3 separate regions of the Homo sapiens genome follow, and regions 2 and 3 are each linked to region 1. The links are contacts of gene promoters, found by promoter capture Hi-C in human tissues and cell types (Jung and others, 2019). All regions are on one chromosome and are shown on one strand. Each heading gives the region's core, a stretch centred on a gene start or on the middle of the fragment in contact. The rest is flanking DNA. Distances are from core to core; before and after follow the strand shown. Region 1 holds the start of CTSL (cathepsin L). Region 2 has its middle 100 kb from the start of LINC02834. Region 3 has its middle 6.4 kb from the start of MIR4289.

Region 1 (4,010 bases), core at 1,022-3,521:
TTCACAGGAGTCACGTAGCCTTTCTCTCTCCAATCCACAGATCTGGGGGCCTCATAAAACAGAGGTTCCTGGAACACTTTCCCCTTCCTGGGCTTACGGTTTTGAAAGCCATTCATCACCTGCCTGAATTCTTCACTGGTCTTCAAGGAAAAGGAAATAAAATGTTGAAAAGCAAGAGATTACCTTAGTAAAGAACCGAAGAGAGGAAGCACAGAGCTCGGCAGTCCACAGCACACTTACCATGTCTCCAAAGGCGTTCATGGCCATTGTGAAGCTGTGTTTCCCTTCCCTGTATTCCTGATTGTGCAGTTCAATCATCTTCATGTTCTTCTCCCACACTGCTCTCCTCCATCCTTCTTCATTCTAGAGGCAAACATGTAACTGATGCTCTTTACTTCTACCTAAAACCCAACTCATCCTCACCAAGTGAATCTGCAGACAGAGATGGAAGAGAAACCATGGCAAGGGAAGGCTTGACACCTCTGGGGATGCTGTTCTCCAAACTGAGACACAACAAGGATGAATGTCCACATTGTGCTCATAATCCACGCCATTAGGTTATTACATTAGGCTATTGGTAAAAGCTGGCCTCTAGAAGCTACTCTCTGACTAAAACTTCTCAACAGCCAGGACTATTCTTTCTGGGGAAGTTTCACTAACCATGCCGTATAATCTGTTGTGCATCGCCTTCCACTTGGTCCACTGTGCCTCTAAACTGTGATCAAATGTTAGAGTAGCTGAGGCAATTCCCAGGCAAAAGGCAGCAAGGATGAGTGTAGGATTCATGTTTTAAAACCTAGGAAGGGAACAAAAATGAGGATCTGATTAGACCAATCCTAAAAAGCCATCTTACTGCCCCCTGAAAAATTAGGGCCACCATGGTAGAATAAAAATATTTAAATTATTCTCCCAAGCATTTACCCAAGGACTGTGGAAGAGGCCAAGGATGTGCCTGGAGAAAAACAGGGCACGTGGAGGTACTGGATGGACTCACCAAAATGAAAAGCAGCCTGTCCAGAGCTGTAGGAGCTGAAACAGTTTATGCGATGACAATTTAGGTTATGAGAACGGTATGAAACTACCTTGTGTGTGAGAAGCTTAAGGCAACAACTAGGAAACCGGGAAACGGTTGATCCAGGTTTTGTACCAATCGCAAAAAATCCAGGTTTCGTGCCCAGGCAAAACCTCACTAATGATAAGGTGGGATTCCCAAGTAGGGACAAAGAGATCCCCAAGAGTTAGGAGGCCTTCACACATCTTCCTGACTAACAAACACCAAAAGCTGAGATAAGTTTTCCAATCTCTCCTATTTATTTATTTATTTATTTATTTATTTATTTATTTATTTTTTGAGATGGAGTCTTGCTCTGTGGCCCAGGCTGGAGTTCAACGGCGCGATATCGGCTCACAGCAACCTCTGCCTCCCGGGTTCAAGCCATTCTTCCTCAGCCTCTTGAATAGCTGGAACTACAGGCGTGCGCCGCCTCGCCCGTCTAATTTTGTATTTTCAGTAGAGACGGGGTTTCACCATGTTGGCCAGGCTGGTCTCGAACTACTGACCTCAGGTGATCCGCCCACCTCAGCCTCCCAAAGTGCTGGGATTACAGGAGTGAGCCACCGCGCCGCCCCAACCTCTCCTTAAATGAAACCTTTCTGAAATGCTTTCCCAGGAAAAACTGGGAAGGAGAGCACGCACTGCTCCCTCCTTCATTCACTTGGGCCTGTGCTGCCGACACCCCAAACTGCTCCCCTAAATCAGGGACGGGGTCATATGGCCGCACGCGGGAAGCCAGCGCCCTGCAGCCAGCTTCCAGGGCTCCAGGCGTGGCAGGGCCGGGGACATGACGCCTGCGCCACACACTGGCTGTAGCGGTCAGAGGATGTTTGCGGTGACGCCAGCAGGAGTACCGCTGTCTGGCGTGCGGGGACTGAGCTTCCCTGTCTGGCCGGGCCAGGCCCTGAGTCGGCGCGGCGCGGCCTGGCTGCGGTACCTGTGTCCACCCGGCTCGGAGGCTGGCCTGCCCGCTCAACCAGTCACGCGCCTCCGCGGGGTCCTCAACTGCCCTCCCCGGCTTCCCCACCTCAAGGCCAGCAGAGTTCGGGGTAGACGCTCTCGTTGCCAGGGCTGGTGCACACCTACTCGACCGCGTCCTCTCTTCCAGTCCCTGTCCGGCCACAGCTGGGCCTGGCCGGCGGCGCTTTCCTGCTGCGGTCGTAGCTGCGCAGGCGCACTCCACGGATGCCGCTCAAGGTTGCGGAGGTCGCGGTTCTGGCCCAGCTTCGCCTGACTCTGCTTCTAAAACCTCGGGTCTGGGTTCGGCCGGCACCGCCCCGCCGCCTGGCTGCGCTGCGATTGGCTGTGCCGGCAGCTGGGCGGGGACTCTGGGTGCTCTGATCCCTGGCGCGGTTCGTGGCTTGTTTACTGACTGTCCCAGAGCTGGGCGTGCCTGCCTCAGTGGACCTGGAGGAAGCAGAGCTGGTGCCCCGGGGCGGCGCAGAGTAGGGTCGGGCGTCTCCCTGGAGCGCTCGAGTCAACTAAGTACACGACTTACTGCACTGGGCGAGTGGCTCCTGAAAAGACGTTTACCGCAAGCCCTGTGTGGACTGTTTCAGCCTAACCTTGCTATTCCTTAGTCCTGGAATTTTTGGTCCGCAGAGCCGAGAGTCAAGTGTACTCTAGTCCAGTGGCTCCTGTTTAGTCCACAGCAAACGTGGGGCCGGGTGGACGAACGCAGAGCCCGCGGGCAGAAGCCTTATCTCCCACTTAAGGGTGGGTGCAGCTGGGCTTTAGAAGAATCTGGTAAGGAAAGGCATCCCCAAAACACGAGATGCTATCGTCAAGACCAGACCCTAGGAGGGAGGAGACTGGCTGCGTCTCCAGAGAGCGCGGGCGTTTTGTCAAGCATCCTTTCCAGACTCCTCCATTCAGGGATTCTTCCTTCTCCCACGTCTTACCCAAAACCAACAGAAATGAGTTATTTACAGAAACATTTGGTTGACAGGAGAAAAGCAGTTGAGAACATTAGAAGCTGCTTTTATTCGCCCACTCTCTAGGCTATGGATTATATCTTCCTTGGTAACCAAGTCGTTCTCTTGAGATTTAAGAAATTTAATGACATTTAATGTCAGGATTTAAGATACAGAGAATGGAGAAATGTTGTAGATAGAGGAAAAATATGTATCTTAATCTGTATAATGTAGATATTAATTTATGTAATTAAGGATTTAAGGAACAAAACCCACAAACATTCTAAACTTTTGTCATTTCATTTTTTATTACATAAAAACATTCATTGTAGAAAATACCTTTCGGGGAAAAAAATAATTACCTCTGCCTTTACCCCATAACCTTTTCGTATGCATATTTTGACTTTGTTAAAAATGAACAAAGTCCATTGATTTCTATTGAAGATTAAACTGATAACTCTTTTAGAAGCACAATCACCTATAGTTTTTTAAGTGGTAAAATATACCTCACATAGCAAGTACCATTTTAACCAACTTTGAGTTCAGTAGCATTAAGTACCTTCACATTGTGTAACCATTACTACTGTTTATTCCCAGAGCTTGTTTATCTTCCTAAACTGAAACTGTATCCATTGAATAATAGTTCCCCATTCCCCCTCTCCTAGCTCAGGTATCTACCATTATATTTCCTGTCTGCAGGAATTTGTTTACTATTTTGGAGATTATTCCTCTTTTTTTTTTTTTGAGACGGAGTCTGGCTCTGTTGTTCAGGCTGGAGTGCAGTGGCGCAATCGCAGCTCACTGCAATGTCTGCCTCCTGGGTTCAAGTGATTCCTCTGCCTCAGCCTCCAGAGGAGCTGGGACTACAGGCGCGCACCACCACGCCTGGCTAATTTTTGTATTTTTAGTAGAGATGGGGTTTCACCATATTGACCAGACTGGTCTTGAACTCCTGACCTCGTGATTCGCCTGCCTTGGCCTCCCAGAGTGCTGGAATTACAGGTGTGAGCCACCGTGCCCGGCCGATTATTCCTCTTTTTATG
Region 2 (4,010 bases), core at 1,044-3,543, 1.1 Mb after region 1:
ACCATCAGAGTGAACAGGCAACCTACAAAATGGGAGAAAATTTTTGCAACCTACTCATCTGACAAAGGGCTAATATCCAGAATCTACAATGAACTCAAACAAATTTACAAGAAAAAAACAAACAACCCCATCAAAAAGTGGGCAAAGGACATGAACAGACACTTCTCAAAAGAAGACATTTATGCAGCCAAAAAACACATGAAAAAATGTTCATCATCACTGGCCATCAGAGAAATGCAAACCAAAACAACAATGAGATACCATCTCACACCAGTTAGAATGGCAATCATTAAAAAGTCAGGAAACAACAGGTGCTGGAGAGGATGTGGAGAAATAAGAACACTTTTACACTGTTGGTGGGACTGTAAACTAGTTCAACCATTGTGGAAGTCCGTGTGGCGATTCCTCAGGGATCTAGAACTGGAAATACCATTTGACCCAGCCATCCCATTACTGGGTATATACCCAAAGGACTATAAATCATGCTGCTGTAAAGACACATGCACACGTATGTTTATTGCAGCATTATTCACAATAGCAAAGACTTGGAACCAACCCAAATGTCCAACAATGATAGACTGGATTAAGAAAATGTGGCACATATACACCATGGAATACTATGCAGCCATAAAAAATGATGAGTTCATGTCCTTTGTAGGGACATGGATGAAATTGGAAATCATCATTCTCAGTAAACTATCGCAAGAACAAAAAACCAAACACCACATATTCTCACTCATAGGTGGGAATTGAACAATGAGATCACATGGATACAGGAAGGGGAATATCACACTCTGGGGACTGTTGTGGGGTGGGGGGAGGGGGGAGGGATAGCAATGGGAGATATACCTAATGCTAGATGACGAGTTAGTGGGTGCAGCGCACCAGCATGGCACATGTATACATATGTAACTAACCTGCACAATGTGCACATGTACCCTAGAAATTAAAGCATAATAAAAAAAAAAAAGAAAGCAAAAAAAAAAAAAACTAGCCGGGCATGGTGGCATGCGCCTGTAGTCCCAGCTGCTTGAGAGGCTGAGGCAGGAGAATCACTTGAACCCGGGAGGCGGAGGTTGCAGTGAGTCGAGATCATACCACTGCACTCCAGCCTGGGCAACAGAACGAGACTCCAGCTCACAAAAAAAAAAAAGAAAGAAAGAAAGAAAGAAATCCATTTTCAATTTTCTACATCGAGTCATTGGGAAGTGATTTCATAATTATAATCTTGTATTGTTAATTCTGTATTATAAAATAGGAATAAATGCGTATTTATTTATACCCTACTGTTTTCCAAAGTTTATTTAAGATAGTTTGCAGGAGTAACATAAAGAACAATGAAAGAGCATGAAAAAGCTCTAGATAAGAGAAATAATAAAGAGAAAACAAAAGTATGTATTAAGTTGAGCCAGAAATAAGCTTAGTACTAATTATAGGTCACATGGGGCCATAAATTTGTCTTCTGGCAGCATGGAGAGAGAAACCCGATGGTTATGGGAAAGTGGTCATTTAATCTGTCATAGTCACACATATCGTTAAAGCCATTAGAAGCATTAAGAACCATCCATGTCCAACCCTATCATTTCAAGATGTGACAGGTGGGGCTCTGGAGCCTATGAGTATGATCACAGAGCTAGTTAGGGCAGAATAGAAGTCAACTTTCAGAAGTGTGGAAATTATTCCGAGAGGAGATTAAGAATCAAAATTAAACCAATGAATAGAAATCACCTTTCTAAGGATTTGAAACCTCCTTTGAGAGCAGTGGAATTTCTTCTGCAAAAGGCACCACAGAGATGCGAATTAAGGAGTATTCTAAGCTTCTAATTAGATTACCTTAATTGTTGTTGCTACATTCAACTATAATACCTGAAAGAATGCTTGAAATCCAGCATAGTCTTTAGGAGATGGTGTGTTTCTTGTATATGATTCAGCATCAGCAATAAACTATATCTGCACATCTTACCACCATCACTAGTGAGTTCACAGAAAGATCCATTTTCTGATACTTTGGGACAGGAATTTTTGGTTTGTTTGGGTTTTTATTCATTTGAGGGAGTGTTGTAACCACATATCCTCACCCTGGTGGAAAAATGTGTTTTCACTAAAACTATAATTTACTACTTCAAGTCTGCCCCCTTCATAACAAAATGGTGACTCTACAGGAAAGGCCTAATTATGAAACTTTGTTGTTGTAATGACAGAAGAAAGGAATAATATTTAAGCATTGTTAACTTGGTGCAAAGAATCCTTGTTAGAGCTGGTGTTACAGCTGTAATGCCCAATTGATATAACAGCAAGAAAGAAATGGGGCATCCTGCTCATGTGATTGAGATAAAGACTAAGCAGAATTGAAGGAGGGCCACCAAAGACATTTTGTGAGAGATTTGGAAGGTGGAAGTGAAGCAGCCTGATAATATTACACTCAGAAGGTTGGTGGAGGTCTCGTAGGTGCTACTGCAGCTCCCGCTTCTCTCTGTGGAACTTCCTATTGACACAGGCAGCAGCTGGGCCTGCAGCTGCTCCATTTCCCCAGATTCTCCTTCACCTTCTCCAACCCCTGAGCCAGGTACCTTCTTTGCTAGAGACCACCCACATCATTGAGGTGGAAAGAGCTGAGAGACTGACAAGAGCTCTAGTCCATCCCCATGGTCTTGCTCCTGCTGGTGGGTCCCAGCTTGTCCTTGCTGTCCCCACTTTGATGCTCTGTCCCTTCCAACTGTTTCAACACCAGGCACAAAGACCATCTCACCGGCTCCCACAAGGGCCCAAGGGCAAATCCCTCTCATATGCCCTCATAAATGCCTAGTTGTTCTGCTTTGGGACAGCAGTGAGGGAATTCTAGCCAATAAATACAGACGGAATCACGGAATTAGAAAGTCATCCTTTTCCAGCCCTTAATGATCATCAGTGGTTAATAGAACCATCAGGTGAAAGACTGATAAGGAACTGTAGAATGGATGGGTCAGGCTGGCAATACCTTAAGCCACTGATCAACATTAACCTCAAACAATGGCTATCAAATAGTAGTCACCTCCTACTGTGAGGCAATAGGGAGGAGAGAGCCCCCATCTGTGATACATTCTAGCCACAAACATTGAACCTGAATCTAATCAAGGCTCCAGGTGAAGCTAACAGTTTACAGGAAACACAGGGCTAGAAGAACATGGCAAATGACACCAGCAGATACAATCATCAAAGTCCAGAATGTAGGGAACTGGACAGAACAGTTTCCTCCCAGCCTAGATACCTTGGGGCCATCTTTGACTCTTCAAATCCCTACATGTTGATTCCCAAAATATTTCCAAACCCTGTTATTATTCCTTTGCTATCTCTCTTAAATATACCCTTTCTCTTCCTTCTTGAGAATTATGTCACTAATTTATTTTTTGTTCTTATGAGCAGTCTCTTCATTTTAATAGTGTTTATTATACTTTTTAAGTAAATATTAATGTGTGTTTGTTTAATGTGTGTCTCCCTCACTCAATTCTAAGAGCCCTACGAAGGCAAAGGACCTGACTCTTGTTCTCATCTATTACCCTGACATACGTTAAGTATGCCACAGTGATATATTCAAGACTTAATGCTTGATTGACAGAATGAATAAATGAATTCATGCACCAATCTTTCAGGCTTCTATGTTATTTCCGGACTTTTTTCATTTTCAATTCATCTTACATACTCTTACAGTAGGTCACTAGTTAGACATGAGAGCAAGGCAGGAGAGGGCTCCCCCCAGCCCCCACCCCGTCCCCCATCAGAAATGTCAGGTGACAATCAGATGATGGTCAGGCAGTTGTTAAACTGCCTCACTAAAAAATAATTGGCCACAGCTGGCACCAGGGAAAGGCCATTTCCACTGACATCTTATTTGTCAGACCAAGCATAAATGTTAATCTCACCCCAAAAAAACACCTTCACAGAAACATCCAAAATGTTTATCCTAATAATGTTTTTCTGGACACCATGGCCCAGCCAAGTTGACACACATAAAATTAACCATTCTACCCTTC
Region 3 (4,010 bases), core at 416-2,915, 1.0 Mb before region 1:
TGTCAGCAGGGTTGGTTCTGCTAAGGACTGTGAGGAAAAATGGGCTCAGGCCTCACTCCTTGCCTTGCAGGTGGCAGTCTTCTCCCTGTGCCCTCACATGGTCATCCTTCCATGCATGTGTCCTCATCCCCTCTTCTTGACAAGGACACCAGTCATATTGCGTTAGGGTCCACCCTGACAGTCTCATTTTAATCACCTCTTTATCCTATCTCCAACTCCAGTCATATTCTGAGGTACTGGGGTTAGGTGTCCAACAAATGAATTTGTGGGGAAGTCACAATTCACCCATAACCCCCGGCCCCTGCGTAGAGCATCCCCCTCCAACTCTGAAGCTGATGAGGTGTTCACTCCCAACCCATCACTTGCACAGGACGCTTCTAAGGCCATAGGTGGGACCCCCAACAACGTGTTTGCGTGTTCTTGCTTCTGTGAGATTTGAAAAGAGCAGTGTTGTCATGGCAACTGGTTTCCAATGCTCATTCCCACTGCCCTTCACTCACACTGTCCCTCATGTTGGGGGACATCAGAGTGGCCGCAGGCATTTCGAGATCCAGCTAATGGGAAGGTTCAAGGGACATGCTTAATTGGACTGTTGGGGATATTTTCACAGCTTAGTCACTTCCATGTATAAGTAACTTACTGCTAGCCAATCCAGAGGAACGACTTCGTGGAATGGTACCCTGCAGACTGTGCCAGTCCTCTCGTGTCTCAGTGTGAAGGTACTCTTATTTCCTACAGCTCCATACATGTGGGTGGTGGAAGAGAAACATGCTTCAAAGGGCCAGGAGCTAGTCTATAGAAAATTATCTCAGTCTTTACATTTATAAGGAGTAAGCAGTTCTCACTGATGTCTAGGCAAAAGCTAAGTTTTCTGGTCAGGAAAATGCTTAAAGTGCAGTAAATTTAATTATAAACACAACATATTTTTCTCCATTTTGATGAAAGTCACGTGCAATAAAACTTATCAGAACTCCTCTTTTGTCAGGCAAAGCACCATAGCATTACTTTTAAAAGGCACATCTTACCCACCACAGAGTAGCAATTGGCAAATTAGGAATTCTAATGAATCTTGTCCTCAAGAAGTAGACAGTTCCTGATGAAACACGCAAATCACCACCAATGCAGTACAATTCCTCAAGAAGCAAGTATTTCAGAGGTGTGTCAACTTATAAAAATGTTATTTTTATGATACTGTGAAATCCATGGTATTTGTTCAAAAATACATAATTTACTGTGATTTCTTTTCTCATTCTAAGTAACCTTTCTCAGGTGAGTTTGCCTTTATAATGTTATGTCCTGGATCTGCCCCCACCTGGCACATTACAATTCCACATCCTTAGTAACCATGTATTTCAAGGATGTAATGTCCTCCCTACATTTGGGGATCAACCATGTGACTGGGGTCCAGGGAGTGGCAGGAGCTGAGACGGACTGGGGGCAAGAGACCACAGCACAAGGAAGACTCAGCTAGATGTGGCAAGGCCCCTGAACCGAGTGACTTATGCATCCTGAATACCATTTGCACCTTGTGTCCACAGATGGCTCTACCACATACAAAGGGCACATCCCTGGGCTGATCTCATTGTCCTGGGAGCCTCGTTTCTTTATTTCTGGAAAGCAGGCAGTGACTGTAAGTAGCTTCATTGGGTTTGGGTGAAGATTAAGTGAGAACAAAATATGACTGTGCTTTGGAAGCTCACATGTGCATTTGACATAAAGGGTTGTTTTTCCAACTGTGGGGAGGTGTGCAAAAATGTGCATTTTTAAAATGATTATTAGCAAATTTGTTTCTGGGTAGAGCAACAGTGAGAAATTGGGGAAGAGAGAGGAGAGAAATGTCAAGATAGCCAGGAGGGAGGGCCAGTGCTTCAGAGATCTTGGTCCTAGAGCACCCTGGGGTGTGGCCATCAGAAAGGGGTAAGACAAAGAGATTCCAGAGAGAAGCTATCTCTATCTAGACAGGAGGCTGGGTGGCCCCCTGTGCCCCAGGCAATGATATCTGGACGACCCCTAATATGATTAGCTTCTTAAAAGCCCTTTTAAAAATGTGTTCAGCTGGAAAATAAACTCTCTTCCATGGTTAAAAAAGACAGAAAGTCCGACTTTTAACTGGCAGATGGCTCACTTAGATTCCGACAAGGCCCGTTTGAACTCATGCTACTTAGAGATGCATAAATTGTTGTTTTTGTTTTCTCCCATTAACTGCTCAGGATTGCAAAATGAGGGATAGTTAGCAGAAATCATTTCACCGTTAATGAAGCATACATTAAAACATTCCATAATGTAAAAATATATCAAAACATTACACTGTACCCAAATATATACAATTATTATTTGTCAATTAAGTAAGCTTAAAAATGTGAAATAAAAACAGACATTTGGAATTTGGGGGCAGGGGAATAGGATGGGTTAAGTGAAAAAGTGATGCTTTACGTAAGAATCCTAAGTCTGAACTTTGAGAGACTGCACAATGGAAAATGCTGGAAAGTCCCCAGTGCTCTGGATCATGTAGGATAAAACTGGTTTCTGAAATAATTGGGCCCATGTGTTGTTATCAGAGACCTAGATCTTTTATTGACATTCTTTCTGTTAAAAAAAAAATGTGCAGCCTAATACTTGCAAAGGAAATGTGATTGCTCCATTTGCATTTCTGTCCATACCACATGGAAGTCATTTTAAAGTAAGTGGTTTAGAATTAGGGCGGGAAAGGAGTTCCAGCTTTTACATCAGAGGGGGCAACCTCTCTCTGCTGGTGCCGTCCAGCAGTCAGGCTCCTTCCATTGTAAATAAGCCATGCCCTGCTACAGGAGAGTTCTTGAAGTTGAGCCCAAACCAGCGTCGTCTTCATGTCACTCACTCCTTCGATTGAAAAATTATCTGCTGCTTAATCCCAAAAATATCATCACAGGTGCTAAAAGATGAATGAAGAAACATATAAGAGAAAGTTAAAATCACCTGGACAGACCATCAATGGCAAAACCTTCCAACACAGGATGGTTCCCAACAATTGTGGTTGTTTACATTTTTCTAGGAAAGAAAAGAATCGATTTGAGAACTCTCTGGAGAAATTCTTCTAAAGCAGAATCTTGTGTCCAGAGAAACTTTAATTTCTTCTTTAAATGCCCACATTTCAAAGGATTACTTAGGAAAAAAGGTAAAACAAAAAACAACTACAAAAAGGCTTTTTCTGTTATCAAATTTATGAAATCCTAATACACATTAAAAATATTTCAAAAACTTGTTTCCACCCCTTCACTTAAAATATTGTGTATAGGCTGAAGTAGTTAACAAAGGCTATTTTCAGGAATCAAATCCCATCCTGAGTGCTGTACTGGGCGTTGTGAAATGCACAGGAAGCAGCTGTAGACTCCACGCGGTCGCCTGCCTGGTCTGGGAGCATCCATGGGCCAGGGCAGCATACGTGGCATAGGGGCAGGCTCCAAGCCAGCCCCCCGCCTCTGACCTGCCTGCACATCATCTGTGAAATGAGGACACTGCTTAGGGCTTTCGGAGGGTAAATGGGTCAATCCATGGAAAGTTGTCTGGGCAGTACCTGACACAGTAGCAAGTGCTAGCCGCTGACTGCTTTTACCCGTTTCTGTTCAGTTACAGGGAACTGTAAATTATTCAGGGACCCATTCTTGGATTGTACATTAGTCTGGCGACATTTTCAGCATCCTGTTTTGGGCTTTTTAGGTAAGTTTGCTACTTTTTGAAAATATCATCTGGGACAGAGAAAAAAATGAAACTTAATGGAATCCATTTTTCTTCTTTGTAGAAAAAACAAATGGGCCAGGAATGAAGCCTCTCAAAATAAGCCCAGAGTGGTGAGTGGCGTGGTTGGATGGCCCTGCCAGCCATGCAACAGGGTCTGCACTCCATCTGAAGAGCACGGTGGACCCCCTGGAGGATTTCCAGCAGAGGCGTGCTGGCTTTGTGTAGTCAGGGGATGTGGCAGAAAGCCTCCAGGATGGCCCCTGGTGATCTGCAGATCCTGGAATTCATGCCTT

What was found. Contacts are between HindIII fragments. The study calls those that stand out against the background at their distance.
Region 2: a fragment that was not itself captured here is called in contact with the fragment with the promoter of CTSL in region 1 in 1 of the 25 tissues and cell types used here (mesenchymal stem cells).
Region 3: a fragment that was not itself captured here is called in contact with the fragment with the promoter of CTSL in region 1 in 1 of the 25 tissues and cell types used here (lymphoblastoid cells).

Annotation. Positions count from the first base shown.
Region 1 is chr9:87,724,380-87,728,389 of GRCh38, reverse strand. It overlaps CTSL (cathepsin L), which reads right to left and starts at 2,271. Exons shown (of 8, transcript NM_001912.5): 1 at 1,992-2,271; 2 at 661-796; 3 at 241-363; 4 at 1-140. The coding sequence starts at 786. RefSeq lists promoters at 954-1,374, 954-1,993, 2,198-2,408, 2,247-2,428, 786-2,428 and 7 more, cis regulatory regions at 1,375-1,608, 1,609-1,754, 2,330-2,331, 2,354-2,357, 2,368-2,371 and 12 more and an enhancer at 1,959-2,480. The HindIII fragment of the contact is 7,957 bases long and covers 1-4,010 here.
Region 2 is chr9:86,603,014-86,607,023 of GRCh38, reverse strand. No RefSeq gene overlaps it. Among named protein-coding and RNA genes, the nearest start is that of LINC02834, 100 kb to the left of the region's middle. The HindIII fragment of the contact is 4,548 bases long and covers 20-4,010 here.
Region 3 is chr9:88,737,474-88,741,483 of GRCh38, reverse strand. No RefSeq gene overlaps it. Among named protein-coding and RNA genes, the nearest start is that of MIR4289, 6.4 kb to the left of the region's middle. The HindIII fragment of the contact is 3,956 bases long and covers 1-3,643 here.